2 separate regions of the Homo sapiens genome follow, and region 1 is linked to region 2. Evidence: promoter capture Hi-C in 16 types of primary human blood cells and fetal thymus (Javierre and others, 2016). All regions are on one chromosome and are shown on one strand. Each heading gives the region's core, a stretch centred on a gene start or on the middle of the fragment in contact. The rest is flanking DNA. Distances are from core to core; before and after follow the strand shown.

Region 1 (5,993 bases), core at 1,591-4,090, 440 kb before region 2:
TACCGTCCCAGGCTCAAGTGATCTCCCACCTCAGCCTCCCGAGTAACTGTAGCCGGGACCACAGGCACACGCCACCATACCCAGCCAATTTTTTTTTTGAGACGGAGTTTCGGTCTTGTTGCCCAGGCCAGAGTGCAATGGCACGATCTCAGCTCACTGCAATCTCCGCTTCCCAGGTTCAAAGAATCTCCTGCCCCAGCCTCCCAAGTAGCTGAGATTACAGGTGTGTGCCACCACACCCAGCTAATGTTGTATTTTCAGTAGAGACGGGGTTTCACCCTGTTGGTCAGGCTGGTCTCGAACTCCTGGCTTCAAGTGAGCCACCTGCTTACGCCTCCCAAAGTGCTGGGATTACAGGCATGAGCCACTGCGCCTGGACTAATTTTTTATTTTTTGTAGAGACAGAGTTTCTCTGTGTTGCCTAGGCTGGTCTCAAACTCCTGGTCTGAAGAGATCCTCAGGCCTCAGCCTCCCAAAGTGCTGGGACTACAGGCATAAGCCATCATGTCCCACTGCATTTCCAATTATTAACAATTATTTTCACTTACAATAAATGAATTGGATGGTGCCAATCTCCATTTTCTAGACCTTACATTCTCTTTCAGCTACTGCTCAGCTTTCTCCATCTCTCCTTTCTTCTTGAGGCAGTCTTCTATTTTGTACATTATACATTCCTGAAAATTTGAAAGACAAATATATGAAAACTATTAGATTTGCATATTATAAGGGGCTGGGCGCAGTGGCTCATGGCTGTAATCCCAGCACTTTGGGAGGCCAAGTGGGTGGACTGCTTGAGGCCAGGAGTTTGAGACCAGCCTGGCCAACATGGTGAAACCCCGTCTCTACTAAAAATACAAAAATTAGCTGGGTATGGTGGTGTGTGCCTGTAGTCCCAGCTACTCGGGAGGCTGAGGCAGGAGAATGGCGTGAAGCCGGGAGACAGAGCTTGCAGTGAGCCGAGACTGCGCCACTGCACTCCAGCCTGGGTGACAGAGTGAGATTCCGTCTCAAAAAAATAAATAATAGAAAAAAATAAATAAAATAGCATGCAAGAATGTACTAACCAGGAACCATGGCTTGTGTCTATAATCCCAGCTATGGGGAGGCTGAGGCAGAAGGATCACTTGAACCCAGGAATTTGAGGCTATGATTGTGCCACTGCACTCCAAGTGGGTGACAGAGCAAGACCTTGTCTCTTAAAATATATAAAATTAAAAGAAAAAAAAACTAAATAAAGAATGTTCTAGGTACCTAGATTCACATGGATGAAAGTTCCCATTTGGTAGTGCTACTATATGTTTCTTGGTCCCCTATGTCCCAGAGGAACCAAGGGCTAGATAGATGGTACATGGGCCTAAAGAGGATATGCCTGCTTTCCTCAGTAGCAGGCAAGCTCTAGGCCTCAGGACTATAGTGCTCCTTGAGGCCTTGGAGATGGGTAAAAACATCAGTTATCTTGCCTGGATCAGCACTCATACAGACACAAATACCCACCCACAAATAAATGTCCTTTTCTCCCAAGCTTTTCTCCCAGCAGGTAACAGCGGGCATGTAGTCCACTTTGTGTTACCCTGAAATCGTCATTAGTCACCGAAAGCCAAATACTACTTCTGTAAGATCGCCAGGACCCTACATTTGCCATCTTCACTTCCTCACCTCTTGATGCTCACTCTTCCACTCACTAAAAACGGTCTTCCACTCTCTGAAAAAATCACCCATAATCTTCTAATTGCAGAATCAAGATGATGCTGTTCTTTCTCTGACACTACTGACCAATTGTCTTTTATTTCCTTTGCCATTATGACACCAGTTGTCCTCCTACAACTCTGATCACTTCCAGAAATCATCCTCAACTCTTCCCTTTCCGTTACCGTCCCCCCCACAATACAATGAATCACCATATCCTGTTGATTCTACACATTTTCATGCTCCATCCTCTCTTCTCCATCCCCACGGCCACTGTCTTGTAACATTGCTCTCCTGGGTACCTGGGTAAGGGACACAGGTTTTGTGTTTTTTTTTTTTTTTTTCAGATGGAGTCTTGCCCTGTCGCCCAGGCTGGAATGCAATGGTGCGATCTCGGCTCACTGCAAACTCCACCTCCCGGGTTCAATGGATTATCCTGCCTCAGCCTCCTGAGTAGCTGGGATTACAGGCACCCACCGTCATGCCTGGCTAATTTTTGTATTTTTGTAGAGACGGGGTTTTGCCATGTTGGCCAGGCTGGTCCTGAACTCCTGACCTCAGGTGATCCGCCCTCCTCAGTCTCCCAAAGTGCTGGGATTACAGGCGTGAGCCACTGCGCCTGACCTTTTTTTTTTTTAAGACTAAATATTTTATTTTATATAGAATTTTAAAAATTTATTTTTTGTACATGAATAAGTTCTTTAGTGGTGATTTATGAGATTTTGATGCAGCCATCACCCAAGCAGTGTATACTGTACCCAATGTGTAGTATTTTTTTTTTTTTTTGAGACGGAGTCTTGCTCTGTCGCCCAGGCTGGAGTGCAGTGGCATGATCTAGGCTCACTGCAACCTCTGCCTCCCGGGTTCACGCCATTCTCCTGCCTCAGCCTCCCGGGTAGCTGGGACTACAGGCGCCTGCCACCACGCCCGGCTATTTTTTTGTATTATTTTAGTAGAGACGGGGTTTCATCGTGTTATCCAGGATGGTCTCGATCTCCTGACCTCGTGATCCGCCCGCCTCGGCCTCCTAAAGTGCTGGGATTACGGGCGTGAGCCACCGCGCCCGGCCTCCATTGTATCATTCTCATGCCTTTGCATCACAGGTTTCTTCTTTTTTTTTTGTAGACGGAGTCTTGCTCTGTCGCCCAGGCTGGAGCGCAGTGGCATGATCTCGGCTCACTGCAACCTCCACCTACCGGGGTCAAGTAATTCTCCTGCCTCAGCCTCCTACCGGGTTCAAGTGATTCTCCTGCTTCAGTCTCCCGAGTAGCTGGGACTACAGGCGCGCGCCACCACGCCCCGCTAATTTTTGTATTTTTCATAGAGGCATGGTTTCACCATGTTGGCCGGGATGGCCTCGATCTCTTGACTCGTGATCCGCCCACCTCGGCCTCCCAAAGTGCTGGGATTACAGGCGTGAGCCACCGCACCCTGTCTAATTTTTGTATTTTTAGTAGAAATGGGGTTTCACCACTATGGTCAGGCTGGTCTCAAACTCCTGACCTCGTGATCTGCCCACTTTGGTCTCCCAAAGTGTTGGGACTACAGGCGTGAGCCACCGAGCCTGGCCACAGGTTTATTCTTTTTGTCGTCATTGTTGCTGTTTTGAGACAGAGTCTTGCTCTGTCGCCCAGGCTGGAGTGCAGTGGTGTGATCTCGGCTCACTGCAACCTCCGTCTCCCGGGTTCAAGTGATTCTCCTGCCTCAGCCTCCCGAGTAGCTGGGATTACAGGCGTGCACCACCACACCCAGCTAATTTTTGTATTTTTAATAGAGACGGGGTTTCGCCATGTTGGCCAGGCTGGTCTCGAACCTCTGACCTCAGGTGATCCTCCTGCCTCAGCCTCCCAAAGTGTTGGGATTACAGGCGTGAGACACCGTGCCTGCCTGGTTTACATTCTCTCTTAATCCTTTGTTTATACACATCTGTGATTCACCAGACTGCGAACTCTTTGTGGGCATAAACTGAGTCTTACCCATTAGAACACGGACTTGAGCAGGGTGGCAAGTAAGGGATGGATTTCCTGAGACAGTCAACAATGAAGTTGCTTTTCCACTGCGTTCCCAACTGCTCAAATCTAGCTGGTTCCCCAATCCCAGTACACTTGCAGTAGCAACGGGGACCCTCTTCCTAAAGTTGCACCAAGCCAGGGATTCTCCACTCATTTCGCCCAGGTCCTAGCCCTGCCAGGCTTCCCCTTTGCTCCTCTGCAACCCCTGTCTAGGGAGGCGGGTGTCTTGGAAGGTCCTTGGGAGCTCCCTCCATCAATTTTGCATCTGCAATTAGGGCTACTTTACCCCAGTGAAGAAAGGTGCCCTCCGTATTAGGGCTTCCTTCCTCCAATTCCGACTGGACAGGGTAGCAGAGCGGGCAAAGTGTGAGAGCCTTTAGAAGGAAAGAGCAGGGCTCCAAGCGCCGCGAAGAATGGCCGAGGCCGACGCACAGCAGACGCTGGAGTGCAGCCCTCCTAGCCAAGCTTGGGTTTCCCCTTATCCCCGCCTCCTTCTCTAAGCTCGACCCACTTTAGGGCGGGACCACCCACTTCAGCCAATTCTGGAAGCCGAACCCTGGCGGTTTGTACTATTTCTTTCCAATAAGAAAAAAAGGAAGCAGCTTGGCTCCAATGACCAATCCGAGGAGGCGGCGCCTGGTTGTCAGGCAGTTTTGTAGGAGTTCGGGCCAATTGGAGGCGCAGGCACCGCTCGACCCGGGCGCAGCGCGCAGGCGGTGGCGAAGAGACGCCGAGCGGGCCGAGTGCGGCCGAGCAAAGCCGGAGCCGGAGCGGGGCCGCAGGAGACGGGCCGGGTCCGGACGGGCCGAGATGCCCTATAAACTGAAAAAGGAGAAGGTGAGCGTGGCCCTTTTTCCCCCACCGCCGCCTTGGAGCCTGCGCGGAGCTCTGGGAGGGGCCGGAGCCAGGCCCGGGACAGCCCCAGACTGACCCTCCCGTCCAGCCCCCGCAGGACTCCTGGGGCCAGCCCTCCGCCCCCGCGGCTGGCAGCACCCCCAGCTTGTGCCGCAGCTAGGACAGCTCCCCCACCTTGCCCCGGAGAGACTCCCCCCACATACACCTCCCTCCCTTCTTCCCTTCTCTTACCCCCGGCCCAGGGTAACCTCCTTCTTCCAGATCTGCCCCATTCCCAGGTCACTGTCCTGCTTTTTCTGTCCCCCCCATCACCCCTGGCCCCGATCCCCCTTCGGTTTGGGCAGCCCCTCATCTGAAACTGCACCTTCCTCCAGAATTGCCCCCTCGCCCCGCCCTGAGCAGCCCCTTGTCTCCTCTTCCTACCCGCCTGGGACAGCCGCCCCGCAGTCCCCTACGGCCCCTTCTCTTTCCATGCCAAGCCCCTGACCTAGAACAGCGCTGCTTTCTCTCTCCTCCACCCAAATCTGGCCTAGGCCCCTCCCTCTAGTTCTTCCTTCACACACAAACTTGTAAGCAGGACTGAGCCCTTCTGTTGATGGAACCTCACAACGTTGGTGCTGGAAGGGACCTCTGAGCGCATGCAGTGCAATCCCTAATGGTACAGATGAGGAGACTGAGGCCCCGACAGGGCAAGGGACTTGTCCAAGGTCACACAGCCTGCTGGAGGCCCAGCTGCAATATCAGGTCTCCTGACTTAAAGGCCTCTTTTGTATCAAAGCCCTCCTAACTGTCACCCAAGTGCATCCTAGACCAGTCACCTTTCCTAATCTGAGTAGGCTCCTCACCCTTATTCTTAATCCTAGGATAACCTTTGCATTTTTCCTTTTTTTTTTTCTTTTCGCACCAGTGCTGGATTTCTGCCTTTCCTAAGCTACACCATCTTCAAATTGGGAATTTGTCCTCACTGTCAGATTATTGTTCCTTCTTAGCCTGCAGGCCAGCCACCCCTGAACACCCATGTCTTTATCATGATGTCCTGACACAGGCCATTTCTTTTTTTTTTTTTTTTTTTGAGATGGAATTTTGCTCTTGTTGCCCAGGCTGGAGTGCAATGGCGCGATCTCGGCTCACCACAACCTCTGCCTTCTAGCTTCAAGCGATTCTCCTGCCTCAGCCTCCCAAGTAGCTGGAATTACAGGCATGCGCCACCACATCCGGCTAATTTTGTATTTTTAGTAGAGACGGGGTTTCTCCATGTTGATCAGGCTGGTCTTGAACTCCTGACCTCAGGTGATCTGACCCCCTCGGCCTCCCAAAGTGCTGGGATTACAGGTGTGAGCCACCGTGCCTGGCCCACAGGCCAGTTCTTAATGTTGCCTTCTTTCACCTTCCTCATCTACCTCGGTGCTGCCTTCCCCTGCTCCTCATCCGTGCCTTTTT
Region 2 (5,971 bases), core at 2,677-5,176:
AGCAGAGTGAGACTCCATCTCAAAAACAAACAAAAAAAGAAACGAAAAAAACTACAACATCCATTCTGCAGTCCACGGATCAAGGAGTAATTTCAACTTTAGAGTATTTTATTATTATTATTATTTATTTATTTTGAGATGGGAGTCTTGCTCTGTCACCCAGGCTGGAGTGCAGTGGCATGGTCTCAGCTCCCTGAAACCTCTGCTTCCCAGGTTCAAGCAATTCTCCTGCCTCAGCCTCCCAAGTAGCTGGGATTAAAGGTACACACCATCATGCCTGGCTAAGTTTTGTAGTTTCAGTAGAGCTGGGTTTTCCCCATATCGGCAAGGCTGGTCTTGAACTCCTGACCTCAGGTGATCTGCCTGCCTTGGCCTCCCAAAGTGCTAGGATTACAGGCGTGAGCCACTGCGCCTGGCCTCAAGTATCATTTTAGAGACAGGGTCTCACTCTGTTGCCCAGGCTAGAGTACAGTGGCCCAATCATAGTTCACTGCAACCTTAAACTCTTGGGCTCAACCCATCCTCCCACCTCAGCCTCCTGAGTAGCAGTGACTACAGGTGGGCACTGCCATGCCCGGCTAATTTTTTATTTTTATTTTTGTAGAGATGAGGTCTTGCTATGTTGCCCAGGCTGGTCTCAAACTTCTGGCCACAAGCAATCCTCTCACCTTGGCCTCCCAAAGTGCTAGCATTAGAAGTGTGAGCCACTGTGCTTGGCCCAAGTATTATTTAGGAAATACATTCCATAAGGCTATAGCTGTCATAGACAGTGATTCCTCTGATGGATCTGGACAAAGTAAATTTAAAACCCTCTGGAAAACATTCACCACACTAGATGCCATTAGGAATATCTGTGAGCCAGGCATGTTGGCTCATGTCTGCAATTCCAGCACTTTGGGAGGCTGAGGCAGGAGGATGGCTTGAGGCCAGGAGTTTGAGACCAGCTTAAGCAACATAGTGAGACCCTGCCTCCATTAAAAAAAAAAGCGCTCTCTCTCCCCCCTCCCCCTCCCTCTCCCTCTCCCCACGGTCTCCCTCTCCCTCTCCCCACGGTCTCCCTCTCCCTCTCTTTCCACAGTCTCCCTCTGATGCCGAGCAGAAGCTGGACTGTACTGCCGCTATCTCGGCTCACTGCAACCTCCCTGCCTGATTCTCCTGCCTCAGCCTGCCGAGTGCCTGGGATTGCAGGCGCGCGCCGCCACGCCTGACTGGTTTTCATATTTTTTTTGGTGGAGACGGGGTTTCGCTGTGTTGGCCGGGCTGGTCTCCAGCTCCTAACCGTGAGTTATCTGCCAGCCTCGGCCTCCCGAGGTACCGGGAATGCAGACGGAGTCTCATTCACTCAGTGCTCAATGTTGCCCAGGCTGGAGTGCAGTGGCGTGATCTCGGCTGGCTACAACCTCCACCTCCCAGCCGCCTGCCTTGGCCTCCCAAAGTGCCGAGATTGCAGCCTCTGCCTGGCCGCCATCCCGTCTAGGAAGTGAGGAGCGTCTCTGCCCGGCCGCCCATCGTCTGAGATGTGGGGAGCGCCTCTGCCCCGCCGCCCCGTCTGGGAGATGAGGAGCGTCTCTGCCCGGCCGCCCCGTCTGAGAAGTGAGGAGCCCCTCCGCCCAGCAGCCGCCCCGTCTGAGAAGTGAGGAGCCCCTCCGCCCGGCAGCTGCCCTGTCTGGGAAGTGAGGAGCGTCTCCGCCTGGCAGCTGCCCCGTCCGGGAGGTGGGGGGCAGCCCCCGCCCGGCTAGCTGCCCCGTCCAGGAGGTGGGGGGGGGCGCCTCCGCCCGGCCAGCTGCCCTGTCCTGGAGGTGGGGGGCGCCTCTGTCCGGCCGCCCCTTCTGGGAAGTGATGAGCCCCTCTGCCCGGCCGCCACCCCATCTGGGAGGTGTACCCAACAGCTCATTGAGAACGGGCCATGATGACGATGGTGGTTTTGTCGAATAGAAAAGGGGGAAATGTGGGGAAAAGATAGAGAAATCAGATTGTTGCTGTGTCTGTGTAGAAAGAAGTAGACATAGGAGACTCCATTTTGTTCTGTACTAAGAAAAATTCTTCTGCCTTGGAATGCTGTTAATATATGACCTTACCCCCAACCCCCTGCTCTCTGAAACATGTGCTGTGTCCGCTGAGGGTTAAATGGATTAAGGGCGGTGCAAGTGCTTTGTTAAACAGATGCTTGATGGCAGCATGCTCGTTAAGAGTCATCACCACTCCCTAATCTCAAGTACCCAGGGACACAAACACTGCGGAAGGCCGCAGGGTCCTCTGCCTAGGAAAACCAGAGACCTTTGTTCACTTGTTTATCTGCTGACCTTCCCTCCACTATTGTCTTATGACCCTGCCAAATCCCCTTCTGCGAGAAACACCCAAGAATGATCAATAAAAATAAATAAATAAATAAATAAAAAACTGTGATTCATGGGATTCATGGGAGGAGGACAACGTATATCAACATTAACAGAAGTTTGGAAGAAGCTGATTCCAACCTTCACGGATGGACCTTCAAGACATCAGTGGAGGAAGTAACTGCAGATGTGATGGAAACAGCAAGTGAATTAGAATTAGAAGTGGAGCCTGGCCAGGTGCAGTGGCTCACACCTATAATCCCAGCACTTTGGGAGGCCAAGGCAAGCGCATCACCTGAGGCCAGGAGTTCAAGACCAGCCTGGGCCAGGTAGCAAGACTCTGTTAATTAATTACTAAAGATTGTGAAATGCAAACCTACATCTCTTAGTTTTTAAAAATAGGAAAATTAATTCTTGACGTTGAGGGATATGGGGCTTCTTACTGAGATTAAGTGGGATAACCATAATTGTCATTTGTTTAGCTTTTCTTCTTCAAGCACTGTACACACCTATGTAAAGGCGGATACCAACACCATGCCTGACAAACATAATAAAATAAAGATGCAGAAGTAACCTGCCCAACATCCCTCTGCTAAAAGCATTCAAACCCAGGTCCGTATAATTATAAAGGTTATGTTCTTCCCACTGCTTCCTTAAAAGATTTATTGGAGGACTACCCTAGGCAAAGCACTTGCCCTAAGCACTCTAAATTAATTATTCAACTCTCTCAACAGTACTTTAGTATTGGTATTGTCCCTGTTGTACAAATAAAGAAGTTGAGGCTCGGCCGGGGTGGTGGCTCACGCCTGTAATCCCGGCTCTTCGGAAGGCCAAGGCGGACGGATCACGAGGTCAGGAGATCGAGACCATCCTTGCCAACATGGTGAAACCCCGTCTCTACTAAAAATACGAACAAAAAAATTGGCTGGGCGTGGTTGCGCGCGCCTGTAGTCCCAGCTACTCGGGAGGCTGAGGCAGGAGAATCGCTTTAACCCGGGAGGCGGAGGTTGCAGTGAACCGAGATTGTGCCACTGCACTCCAGCCTGGTGACAGAGCGAGACTCCGTCCCCCCCCCAAAAAAAAGTTGAGGCTCAAAAAAGTTAGGTAACTTGTCCAAGGTCATGCAGCCCTAGAATAATAAGGGAAAACAGTGTGTCCCAAAATGGCATTATTTGTCCGTGGGGCAGGTATGTTTGAATTTCCATCCATCCATCTATCTATCTGAGACTGGGGTCTCGCTATGCTGCTTGGACTGTTCTCGAACTCCTGGGCTCAGGCCATCCTCCTGGGATCTACCGGCGCGCAGAGACTACGGGCGCGCAGGGACTACCGAGGCGCGCAACCGTGCCCGGCTCCCCACCTCTTCAAGAAATGGAGATTGCAATGCTTGTGCCAACTAGTAAGCTTACACAGTTGTGAGCGAATACTCCACGTGAGAGGTTATAAATGACGTTGCACTAAGGGAGGGATGGATCCTTAACGCAAGTCAGGCCACAAAAGCGTACCAAAACGCAACTGTGCGTCTGCACCAGCGCGCCTGCGTGCAAAGGCCAGCCGAAGCAGAGAGCAGTGCACATGCGTGCAGCTACCAGCATATGGGCGTGGCGAATAGCGCCGGCTAGGTCTTCCAACCTCTAGGTGGGGTGCCAGCCGGGGCGGGCCCAGCACCCCGGCCGGGCAGTACTTTTTTTTTTTTTGCATACACCAGTTCTCAGGATATCGGAATCCGGTGCACAGCAGCTTCTTCAGGTTTGAGGTTCCGGATGCCTGGGGGCGGAGAAACGGGAGGGGAAAAACAGATGGCAAGGTGGGTGACCAGCGTCCAGAAATCCACTGGGGAAACCTCCTCCCGTTTTTACCCTTGGTACCGCGAGAATGGGCGGGGTCTGGCTTCGGGGCGGAAGCGACGGGCGGTCCCGGTTCCAGGGCGGGGCTGGAGACAGGGAGACCCGGCTGGGAAGTGCAGGCAAAGCCGGCTGTTACCCTGCACAGCCGTCACCCTCAACTTTCCCTTCAGGTGAGGCGTCCATGGAACGACTTCTGGCCCAGCTGTGCGGCAGCAGCGCAGCGTGGCCGCTCCCGCTGTGGGAGGGGGACACCACAGGCCACTGCTTCACCCAGCTGGTGCTCAGCGCCCTGCCCCACGCGCTCCTCGCCGTGCTCAGTGCCTGTTACTTGGGCACCCCGAGGTGGGTAGAGACGGGCGCAAGGCATCTGTCCATGTGTGCCTGCAGATCTCACCCGCGGCCTACATCTTCCGGCAGTGTCACCAGAATAGCGAGGTCTCTGGAGTAGGGCAGAAGTAGAATAAAATCTAAGCATTGCTACTTAGCAGCAATGTGGCTGTTCTTGGGCAAGTACCTGCCTTCTCTGAGTCTCATTGTTGGGAGGTTTAAATGAGATAATGAATTTAAGCATATAGTGCAGCGCCTGGCATGTTTTTAAAGGTCCGATGAGTATCAGAAATCATCAGAATTGTCCATTTTCAGCTACCCGGACTCAGCTGTCATGAATTGGAGGCAGAATTGGGGGAACAACGTTTTTAGCCAAAAGCGATGATGTGTTTAAGTTGTAGGCTCAGTTTCTCACCACTGCAACCCATGAAACCTTAGTGTTTCCAGATTAAGAAAAGCATACCTAGGCTCAGCTGAAGAGGAAGCAGTAGATAGACAAGAAGAGCAAAATCAAACATTAAGCCTTCCCCAATTAAGGGCTATAAGGTGTGGATGCTAAACTCAACTTGATTTTGTATTTAGTTCTTGTATGGCTAGAGATGACTAAAGTTAGTCTCATTCTGGCTGCCGAGAAGATAGGAGGACGGTGTGGTCTCTGCCTTTGGGAGTTCCTAGTCTGATGGGGGGAAGTGTCTCTATCCAAGAGGTCTTTCTTGCTTTCTCATTAGACTGAGTTCCCAAAAGACTGTGCCAATTTTTAATAGCTGCTCTTCTGAGAAGGCTGTCTATGCTAGGTGATTAAACCCTTCTAGACTTTTGTCTCTGTGTAAGAAACAAATCAGGATTCCTCCCAGACCAAGCGGATACACAGCTTCTCCTATCCAAGGAAGGGATTCATCCGCCCCCTGGGAAAGCAAGAAAGACCATCATGTGATCAATAGAAATTGTGCTTCACTTCACTTATCAGCCTTGTGTGTGTTGCTGAGAAGGGTTAGAGAGATCGAGAATCTAAGACAGGAAAGGGCCTCAGAAGGCTTTAACTTGAGACTCACTGCTCACCATACTGGTGAGGAAAGTGAGATTCAGAGAGGAAAAGAGACTTGAAGGGGTGATGAGGCTGGTTGATGGCCAACTTGGGGCCAGTTTATGCCTCCAAGGGCCCAGTGTTCTTTCTTGGGTCCCCACATCTTAGGAAATATATATATTTTTTTCTTTTCCTTCTTTCTTTTCTTTCTTTCTTTTCTTTCTTGTGTGTGTGTGTGTGTGTGTGTGTGTGTGTGTGTGTGGCGGGGGGGAGGGGGGATTGTTATTGTTGTTTTGTTTTTTGAGGCAGCGTCTCCCTCTGTTGCCCAGGCTGAAGTACAGTGGTGCAATCACAGTTCACTGCAGCCTCAACCTCCTGGGCTCCAGCAACCTCTCACCTCAGCCTTTTGATTTGCTGGGGCCACAAGTGCATGCCAC

The links. Contacts are between HindIII fragments. The CHiCAGO score rates a contact against its expected background, and 5 or more counts as called.
Region 1: a contact is called between a fragment that was not itself captured here and the fragment with the promoter of ABCC10 in region 2, in 3 of 17 cell types (erythroblasts, fetal thymus and total CD8 T cells). The highest score is 5.9, in erythroblasts.

What each region holds. Positions count from the first base shown.
Region 1 is chr6:42,980,170-42,986,162 of GRCh38, forward strand. It overlaps LOC124900215 (a long non-coding RNA gene), which reads right to left and starts at 4,145. Exons shown (of 2, transcript XR_007059580.1): 1 at 3,663-4,145; 2 at 373-674. PPP2R5D (protein phosphatase 2 regulatory subunit B'delta) reads left to right here and starts at 4,401. Exons shown (of 16, transcript NM_006245.4): 1 at 4,401-4,535. The coding sequence starts at 4,509. RefSeq lists silencers at 1,053-1,271, 4,450-4,519, 4,610-4,759 and an enhancer at 4,180-4,299. The HindIII fragment of the contact is 2,641 bases long and covers 1,521-4,161 here.
Region 2 is chr6:43,423,615-43,429,585 of GRCh38, forward strand. ABCC10 (ATP binding cassette subfamily C member 10) reads left to right here and starts at 3,927. Exons shown (of 22, transcript NM_001198934.2): 1 at 3,927-4,143; 2 at 4,354-4,525. The coding sequence starts at 4,365. LOC105375065 (a long non-coding RNA gene) reads left to right here. Exons shown (of 6, transcript XR_007059585.1): 6 at 1,079-2,400. RefSeq lists enhancers at 1,881-2,402, 4,504-4,573. The HindIII fragment of the contact is 12,589 bases long and covers 3,739-5,971 here.